2 separate regions of the Homo sapiens genome follow, and region 2 is linked to region 1. Evidence: promoter capture Hi-C in human tissues and cell types (Jung and others, 2019). All regions are on one chromosome and are shown on one strand. Each heading gives the region's core, a stretch centred on a gene start or on the middle of the fragment in contact. The rest is flanking DNA. Distances are from core to core; before and after follow the strand shown. Region 1 holds the start of GEM (GTP binding protein overexpressed in skeletal muscle). Region 2 overlaps CDH17 (cadherin 17).

Region 1 (4,135 bases), core at 537-3,036:
GATGGCAGCATTAGTAAGCATGAGTGAGAGCTCCGCTCAAATACATGGTCAGTCATCAGTAATATTTTATTAGATGAGATGAGAAGCAAGTATCCCTAACATAAAGACCACCAATTAAACAGTCCCCCAAACCCCAACAAGACAGGCTTTCAACTGGACACACACATGCTGCCCACACTGTCAGTAACCAGCTCCTCAGGCAGACTATCATTTGCATGGGAAAACAAATACGGTTAACATCACCCACTGCCCATGGGCTTCCCCCTTCCTCAAAGCAGACTTGGATGAAAGAAGAGCTGCACTCAGAGCTGGCACAAAGGCAGCTGGAAAGAACCAGCAGACTCCAAAGATGGCTTGAAAAGCAACAAGTTAATGTTGCTGGGGACCAGCTGGTCAGGTTAGCTGCTCTTGTCTAAACTTGGCTCTTAATTGCACCAGTGTCCAGCAGGTTTTGTGCCTCAGTGGGAAACACGTGGCAATGACATCACCCTCCCCTCCCCTGCCCACTGCAACCCTGGCTGGACTGGACAGGCACTTATTGGAACTTCCATGTTTAGTAAAGTTGCCTTGATGCTCTCCAGCTGCCTGGAGAGCATCCACCTGCCATTATTGGGGGTAGGGGGGAAATTTTCTGTTTAAAGTTTATGCCTCAGCTGTGCCCTCTTACCCACAGATACCACTTTTAAAACATCCCGGCTCCAAACCTAGACACCCTGGCAGAGAAATGACCTGCTCATGTTCAGACCTATGAAATTTGCAGAGAAAGTGCCTCATTCTTAAAAAACCACATCCATTCTCAAGAGTTCTTTAATTCAACTCAGATTCCTTTTTTGAGTCAGGGTCTTGCTCTGTCACCCAGGCTGGAGTGCAGTGGCACGATCATAGCTCACTGTAGCTAGCCTCCAACTGCCAGGCTCAAGAGATCCTCCACTTCAGCCTCCCAAGTAGCTGGGACTACAGACCTGCACTACCACGTCCACTAGTTTTTTTATTTTTATTTTTATTTTTTGGTAGAGACAGTGGCCTCACTATGTTGCCCAGGCTGGTCTCGAACTCCTGGGGTCAAGTGATCCTCCTGCCTCGGCTTCCGAAAGTGCTGAGATCACAGGCCTGAGCCACCATTCTCAGATCCCCTTCTTGAAGCAAATCAGAAGGCTGAAGACTCCCCTAAATGATATTCAACAACTTCTCTACAACTTTCCCTTTGCAGACTGCCTCCCCTAGCCGGGAGGTCTGTTTTTCCGGCTACTGGTGATAAAGTATAAGTACTTACGTTGCAATCAGCAAGATGCACAAACACTCCTCTCCCACCCTCACCCCCACACTCCGTACCCCAACATCTCGCCACTAACCAGGACGACCAGCCGGTTTTTTAGTCTCAAAAGCAGCACCTCAGTTGGCAGACTTACATTCAAACAACAAATACATAAAGCATCATTAAGGGCTGCCCTCTCTGACCACTCGATCTGTAGAGGGAGGTGACCCTTCTACCGAATTGAACTAAGGAACCTGCTGATGAGAAGCGACATCCTTTGCACTTGAAGCTCTGACCCCTACCAGAAAATCCCAGTGCTGAGCGCACGTTCCAGGGGTTCTTTTCTCAACTTCGAAAGTTCTGCGGGCTGGGAAACTCCCACTCTCTCCCTTCTCCGTCTCGGGCCGTCCCCCTTACTTGGCTCGGCCGGATCGGCGTCGGGGCGTCAGCGTATCGCGTGGGTCCGCGCTGGGATACCCGGGCCAACGAGCGGGGAGTGCTGCGCTGTGCCCGCCGTCCTTGCCCGCCGCCTGCAGCCGCCGCGGCCGGGCGGTTTATAACCAGCCCAGCCGACCCGCCGCGGGGCTTTTCCGTGACGTCAGCGCCCCCGCCGGGAGGGGGCGGCTCTGCAGCAAACTCGGAGTTGCAGCCACTTGGCTAAATCAGTTACTCGCAGTCATGTGACCCCTTCTCTCTCCATTTAAAAAATAATGACAGTTCAATCCTGGGCCTCCTTTATTTTGTTTTATTTTCTTTTTACCAGATGAACACAGGAAAATGGAAAAATACACTAAGTGACACTTAATCGTCCTTCCCAGCAAAGCACTTGCGAGCTGTCGGGATAAAGGATGGAAGGGAGAGGCAGGTTTGAGTTGAGAACTCAGTTTTGCCAAGAAAACAGAGATCAACCTGGAATGCGCAGAGACTTTAGCCTCCAGGATGAGACTGCAGCCACCTTGAATAGCCAAGGCTTGTTTTAACCACATCTTCTGCAACGAAGACAGCCTTGTCACCTTCTTCTGGATAGGGGGAAGCAGATGGAGCCCCACAAGGCTTTGTTTCCCTTCTCTGGCAAGGACCCAGAGAGAAGGGGCCAGAAAGAGGTGAGGAAAGAGGACAAGACCTTGAAAAGGGCAGTTTGGAAAAACAATTTAATTGAGGATCCAAGCAGATTGTGCTAAATATTGCTGGCCCTCCTGCTCTGGGCCAGAATGCTGAGGCTCCTCAATCAGGGAATTTAATCAGCATCCCAATCAGCAGCATCTCTGTACCAGGCTCCCTGGCAAGGCTACGCCTTGGGCATGAGCCAATACAGCCTGGCCATGGGGAGGAGCACTGAGACCAACACCCCTGTAAGAGACTCCTGTGAACAAAGGGCACAGGATAATAACTACTACTACCATTTATTAAGTACCTCTGAGGACCTCTGCTTAGTAGGTACTGTTAGGCCTCCTGGGACCTTAATCCTTACTATACTTCTGCAAGGTGGCTCTATTTCTACCCTCATTGTATGGAGGAGGAAGATAACATAGGGCCAGAGAATTTGCCCAAGGTCACACCGCTGGTATAAGTGGCAGGGTCAGGACTCAAAGCCTGGTTTTCCTGAGTCTCTGCACTGCACCACCAAGTGAAGGATTTCAATGACCTCTTTCTGGGGACATGGGTATTTCCCAGATGCTGTGTTTAGAGATGATGCTGGCCTCTCCAACATATCTGCTTTTCCAGCCAGCTTCAACTCTGGGTTGGCTGGTGGCTCCGGGAAGCAGCCAAAGGCACCAGCATCTATTGAAGCAGCTGGACTCTGCTGTGATTAGAGTCAATTCACAGTTATCCTGCAGGCATTTATCTGCTTTGAGAATTAGCTACATGACCAGCTGCTGAGACCTGCCAGGTCCCAAGCTAGCAAAGGTGGAATCCATAGAGTAATGAAAACTTAGAATTCCTTTAGTCTCAGGTGTTGTGGCCCCAATCTCCTACTTATCTTATACATAAGAAACCTGAGACCCAGAGAGGAGATGACCGCTTAGGACATGACAGAACTGGAACTACAACCTGGGGATCATAATTCTCTGGATGCCCTTTGCTTCTGTCAAGTTTTTCTTCTGGGTTTCGCTGACAGGAAGTGGCTACAGATGTGGGGAAAGGAAAAGGAGAGGAGATGGGGGGTGGGGGAGATCATCTCCAAGAGTATATCACTGACTCCATTCTAAAACACATGTAATTGATGAATAATCCATGTTTCAAAATGATCCATGCTTTTTCCATACTGACACTCCTACTCTGTCAACTGGTCTCAACAGAAACATCATAGGAGTAAAAACTAAGAAGAAATCAGTTTATAAGCATATGATATAGTTCCTCAGTTCTACTTTTGCCGATTGATAAGAATCTAATACTTCACATTTATAAAAACCTAATTCTGGCCAGGCACAGTGGCTCACGCCTGTAATCCTAGCACTTTGGGAGGCTGAGGTGGGTGGATCACGAGGTCAGGAGTTCAAGACCAGCCTGGCCAACGTAATGAAACCCTGTCTCTACTAAAAATACAAAAAAATAGCCGGGCATGGTGGTGGATGCCTGTAATCCCAGCTACTCAGGAGGCTGAGGCGGGAGAATCGCTTGAACCTGGGAGGCAGAGGTTGCAGTGAGCCGAGATCGTGCCATTGCACTCCAGCCTGGGCGACACAGCAAGACTCCATCTCAAAACAAACAAACAAAACAAACAAAAAAAAAACTAATTCCATACCTAGGCAATATCTACTATGAACTATTTGTCATTGGTATATGTGAAACATACAAAAGAAAATGAACTCCAGGGACTGGGGAAAGGGAAGGGGCACACAGCAATGTTGTGTTTGGATAATAGAACAATTTTTAAAT
Region 2 (4,135 bases), core at 565-3,064, 92 kb before region 1:
GGCCAGGCTGGTCTCGAACTCCTGGCCTCAAGTGATCTGCTCATCTTGGCCTCCCAAAGTGCTGGGTGGGATTACAGGCATGAGCCACTGCACCTGGCCTAATTCAGTATTTTATCAAGGTTTTATTTGTGAATATTTCCACCTACTCATGTCCTATCAGCTAAGCTAGACAGTAAGTCCCCACAAGGCAGGAGCATTGTCTTGTACCCTTTTAAGCTTACATATATAGAATATGCTCAGTTGATTTATAAGAATTCTTGGTCCACTAAAGACTCTGAAATATTTTTACAAAATAAATTCTCACCTTTAGAGAGGCAAATAGCAAGCTGAGCCCCTTCAAAATTTATTCTACCAACAATGACTTCTTCAGTCTCAGAAAACCAGCACTATCCTCTTCCCAGATGAGGTAGGCGCCTCGAAAAGAGCTTCCAGCAACCCCCATCTCCTGATATTTGTGCTTTTTCAGAACCCCATCCTGTTGAGTGCAGGCTGGACCTAGCAACTTGTTTCTAATGGCAAAAGTGATGGGATCGCTTCCAAGATTAGGTCATAGAAAGACTGATGCCTGTCCTTTCCTGCTCTGCCGTACTCTTTCCCTCTCTCTCAGAACTCTCTGAATTAGAGGTATCCAGCTGAACTTCACCCAGATTCCAGACTCACAGAAACTGTGACATGATACATGCTTGTTGTTTCAAGCTGCCAAGATTTAGAGCAATCTGTTTTGCAGAAATAGGTAACAAATAGACTATATGATTGGCCCAATGTAAAAGAGGCTTGAAGTGTCATGTCCGGGTCAAGAAAGTTGTCAAAGATTTTCCACCTTTATTCAGTGTCACAGACCATCCCAGATTTCCCAAGAAGGTGATGGCACACGTGTTTGTTGGCTACTGTTACACTACTGTGACTGTGAGAAGATTCTTCCTTATAACGAACTGAAGTCCTTCAAGCTGGCATTAACTCTTCCTGTTGTGGCAAGAGTTGAGAAAAATGAAACAGAGAGGACCTGCACAGAACACAGTGACACAGAACACACTGACAAAAGGCAGCCCACACGACACCTGATAGCAAGAAGAAAAATAATGAGCAGTGTGAGCAAGCCGCTCCAGCAGCGCCCACCAAGCCTCCGGGAAGGCACCCACTCTGTCAGAGGTGTGTCTGGTGAGGAATGGAGGGACGAAAAGAAAATGTGAGCCCATCCACAAAGCACAGGAGGATCTCTCCACAAGGGCAGTGAAGCTCTAGAAATGATAGTCGTGAGGCTGCTACACTTGGAAGCCTCTGAAAGGTACACAGCACAACAGAACAAAACAGTTCAAGAAATGCCAGTCTGCTCAGTCAAGGGGCTCACTGCCAAGGGGGAAACAGACAAGCATTGTCCCAAACCCAGAGAAGCCATAAAACTCCCAGAAATTATAATGTTCTTATAGTAGTTGTTCCTATACAAAAACTAAAAAGCTATCACAGGACACAGTAAAAGAAAACATAGCAAGACAAAGCAAAAATGATAAAAATAGATGGGATTTGACTTCATCTAGCAGCCTCTTGAATTATATTATCAGCTTCTTGGAAAGGGGGGCCCAAGGGTCAAAAGTCAACTTCCATTGGTGTTGCTTACTTATTGCAGGGTGTCTGTCTGACTTTGGGTGTAAATGTTTAAATTCTTTGGCAAATGTGATGAGATTATCTCTTTAATGAGATTATTAGAAGTCAAATAACGTATGGGGAAATCCTGCAAATGAGATATCCCTATATACATGTATATAAGATACTAGTGTAGGTGGCTGTGATACTAATGATAGTAGTAAGGTTGATAATGATAGTGATAATGGTAGTAGCGGTAATGGTAGCTATAAAAGCCCCAATTTAAGAATACTATCCAGATACTGTTTGATCCCAAATACGGTCCTTACGTGACTCCCAAGGTACAGTCAACCTCTATGCTGTGGAAGACATGGATTACTGACTCCCAGTAAGGTCTCCTGCTCACCTTTTACCCAGCAGAGGAGAGAAATGGAGGGCAGTTACACAGCATTAGGCAGCTCTCATTTCTTACCCAGTCGTTCATTCTCCTGGACCTCAAATACGGTTACTGGTGACGGACATGTAGGTGGATTATCATTAATATCTTTAACTTTTACATGAATTTCCAGCGGATATGAAAGTGGTTTTCCGTACTCATCCTTTGCAACTGCATAAAAAACATACTACAACAGGAAAGTCAGAGTTAAGGCAAGACTCACCCACCACCCTCTGTCAAAAGCAGAGAAAATCGTTGTTTCATTTCTATGTCATTTACTCCCTTATTTTTAATTCACTTAGAATTGGAAAATTTTAAAAACTGAGATGGGTCAGAATTATGTGAAAATTATCATGTCTTTGAAAACCAATAATATGCTGGAGTCTGAAATGTGTGTTTTTTTTTTCTTTAAAGTAAAATCCATTTTGCTCTCAACTGTAGATGGGCATAGGACTTTGTCTTGTCGCCTGTGAAACTCTTCTCTTTTACTCACTGCATCCTTTTCTTCTCGGTCCAAGGGCTGAGTCACGTAAATATCTCCTTCCTGGTCAATTGAAAATGGGAATCTTGGCAGCTTCTCTTTGTCAACTAAGGAATATTGTGCACCGGGATCATTCCACCGCACCTACAGGGCCCAAAGTCAGTTGTGAGGAAAGCTGTATTTGGACTGAGAGAACTGGAAAGGAAATAATTTTCTAGTTCTCAATTTGAAATCTCTGACAACCTTGTATGTTTGTGGTTTCTTGTAACAACTGAATTACGTTTTTCACTTTTAACCTAAAATAAGCCTGTTTCCCCCCACCAAGTTATATTGCTCGAAAAAAGCACACCAGGAAATGTTTCTTCTCTAAAGCAATTCTTCACAAACCCTCTACAGGGTTTCTGGGCTGCTTTCTTTTGGAAGTCTGACTGTGAAAGCTTTCTATCCACGAACCATCCATTTAAGAAACAAAATGTACTTTGTGGCTGGCAGTGTCTGAGGACTAAGCCACAATGTATGGTGAGCATCTAATACTCACCAATGAAGATGAACAGGGGCAATAGGGGCCACTCTGAAGTCTTCTCCATGCCATTAAGTAAGACAAATGATACAAAAATAAGGACATTCCTTTCCTAAATATTTAGCCTCAGAGACTTCAGGGATGAGAATAACTGCCAACTCCTAGGGTTGTTTGTAAACAACCTGGCAAAAATAAAAAATAAACACAAGTAAGACCAGTCTACTTGCTATATAGACAGAGCCTGGTCTGATATATTAATAATGTTTACTGAGTTTGCCACATGCCAGACACAATTCTAAACATATTTATGTGTTATATCTCATTTAATCTCCAAACAGTCCTCTGACGTACAGACTACTGTTATCTCTATTTTATAATGAAGAAACTAGGGCACAAAAAATTTAAGCGACTTGCCCAAGGTCCTACTGCTAGTTGAAATTTCCACAGTAAACTATTCTCAGAGCAGCCTGGGAAGATATCACAGCAGCAACTTTGTCCCTTGCTAATTATTTAAGCATCACCCATTGTCCCTGCAGACTACCTTCTTGGTTCTAAAGTGGGCTCCTCTTGTGTTCTAAAAATTCAGTCTGAGTTCCTCTTCCCATCTCCCCCTCCCCCCTCCCCCCTCCCCCTCCTCCCCCTCCTCCCTCCCCTTCTCCCGCTCCTCCTTCCCCCTCTCCCCCTCTCTCTTTCTCCCTCTCTCCTTTTGGGTTTCAGAACACCCAGAGCATTTTTTCCAGACCTGAAAATTGGGTAGGCACTCTAGAATTTTCCCTTGGCAGCCCCAAGGCAACTAAGCATGAGTTCTTTGCAGCATTTACCAATCCCTTTGGGAGTAACCTGAATAATAGCTATGAAGACTTTAGTCTAGGCCCCCAATCAGAAATTCTCATGGTAATGAGTGCTGACATGCTTTCTTTCTAACTGGGAAATCAGAATTCTTCCTGCTGTTCTTCCTTTTTTTTCCCTCCTGAAGTTGAAGTTCATTAATTCAACATTCAATAAATAAATGTCCCTGGGCCCATCCCAATAAATATGATGGAATAGGCCATTCCAGGGCCCCTTAACAATAGTAGCATTAAAAAAAAATTAGGGGAACTACAGACTAGTACTTCTT

Evidence for each region. Contacts are between HindIII fragments. The study calls those that stand out against the background at their distance.
Region 2: a fragment that was not itself captured here is called in contact with the fragment with the promoter of GEM in region 1 in 2 of the 25 tissues and cell types used here (aorta and small bowel).

What each region holds. Positions count from the first base shown.
Region 1 is chr8:94,260,533-94,264,667 of GRCh38, forward strand. GEM (GTP binding protein overexpressed in skeletal muscle) reads right to left here and starts at 1,787. Exons shown (of 5, transcript NM_005261.4): 1 at 1,558-1,787. RefSeq lists a silencer at 1,029-1,098. The HindIII fragment of the contact is 10,611 bases long and covers 1-4,135 here.
Region 2 is chr8:94,168,344-94,172,478 of GRCh38, forward strand. It overlaps CDH17 (cadherin 17), which reads right to left. Exons shown (of 18, transcript NM_004063.4): 8 at 2,511-2,642; 9 at 2,054-2,204. Among named protein-coding and RNA genes, the nearest start is that of CDH17, 38 kb to the right of the region's middle. The HindIII fragment of the contact is 6,412 bases long and covers 1-4,135 here.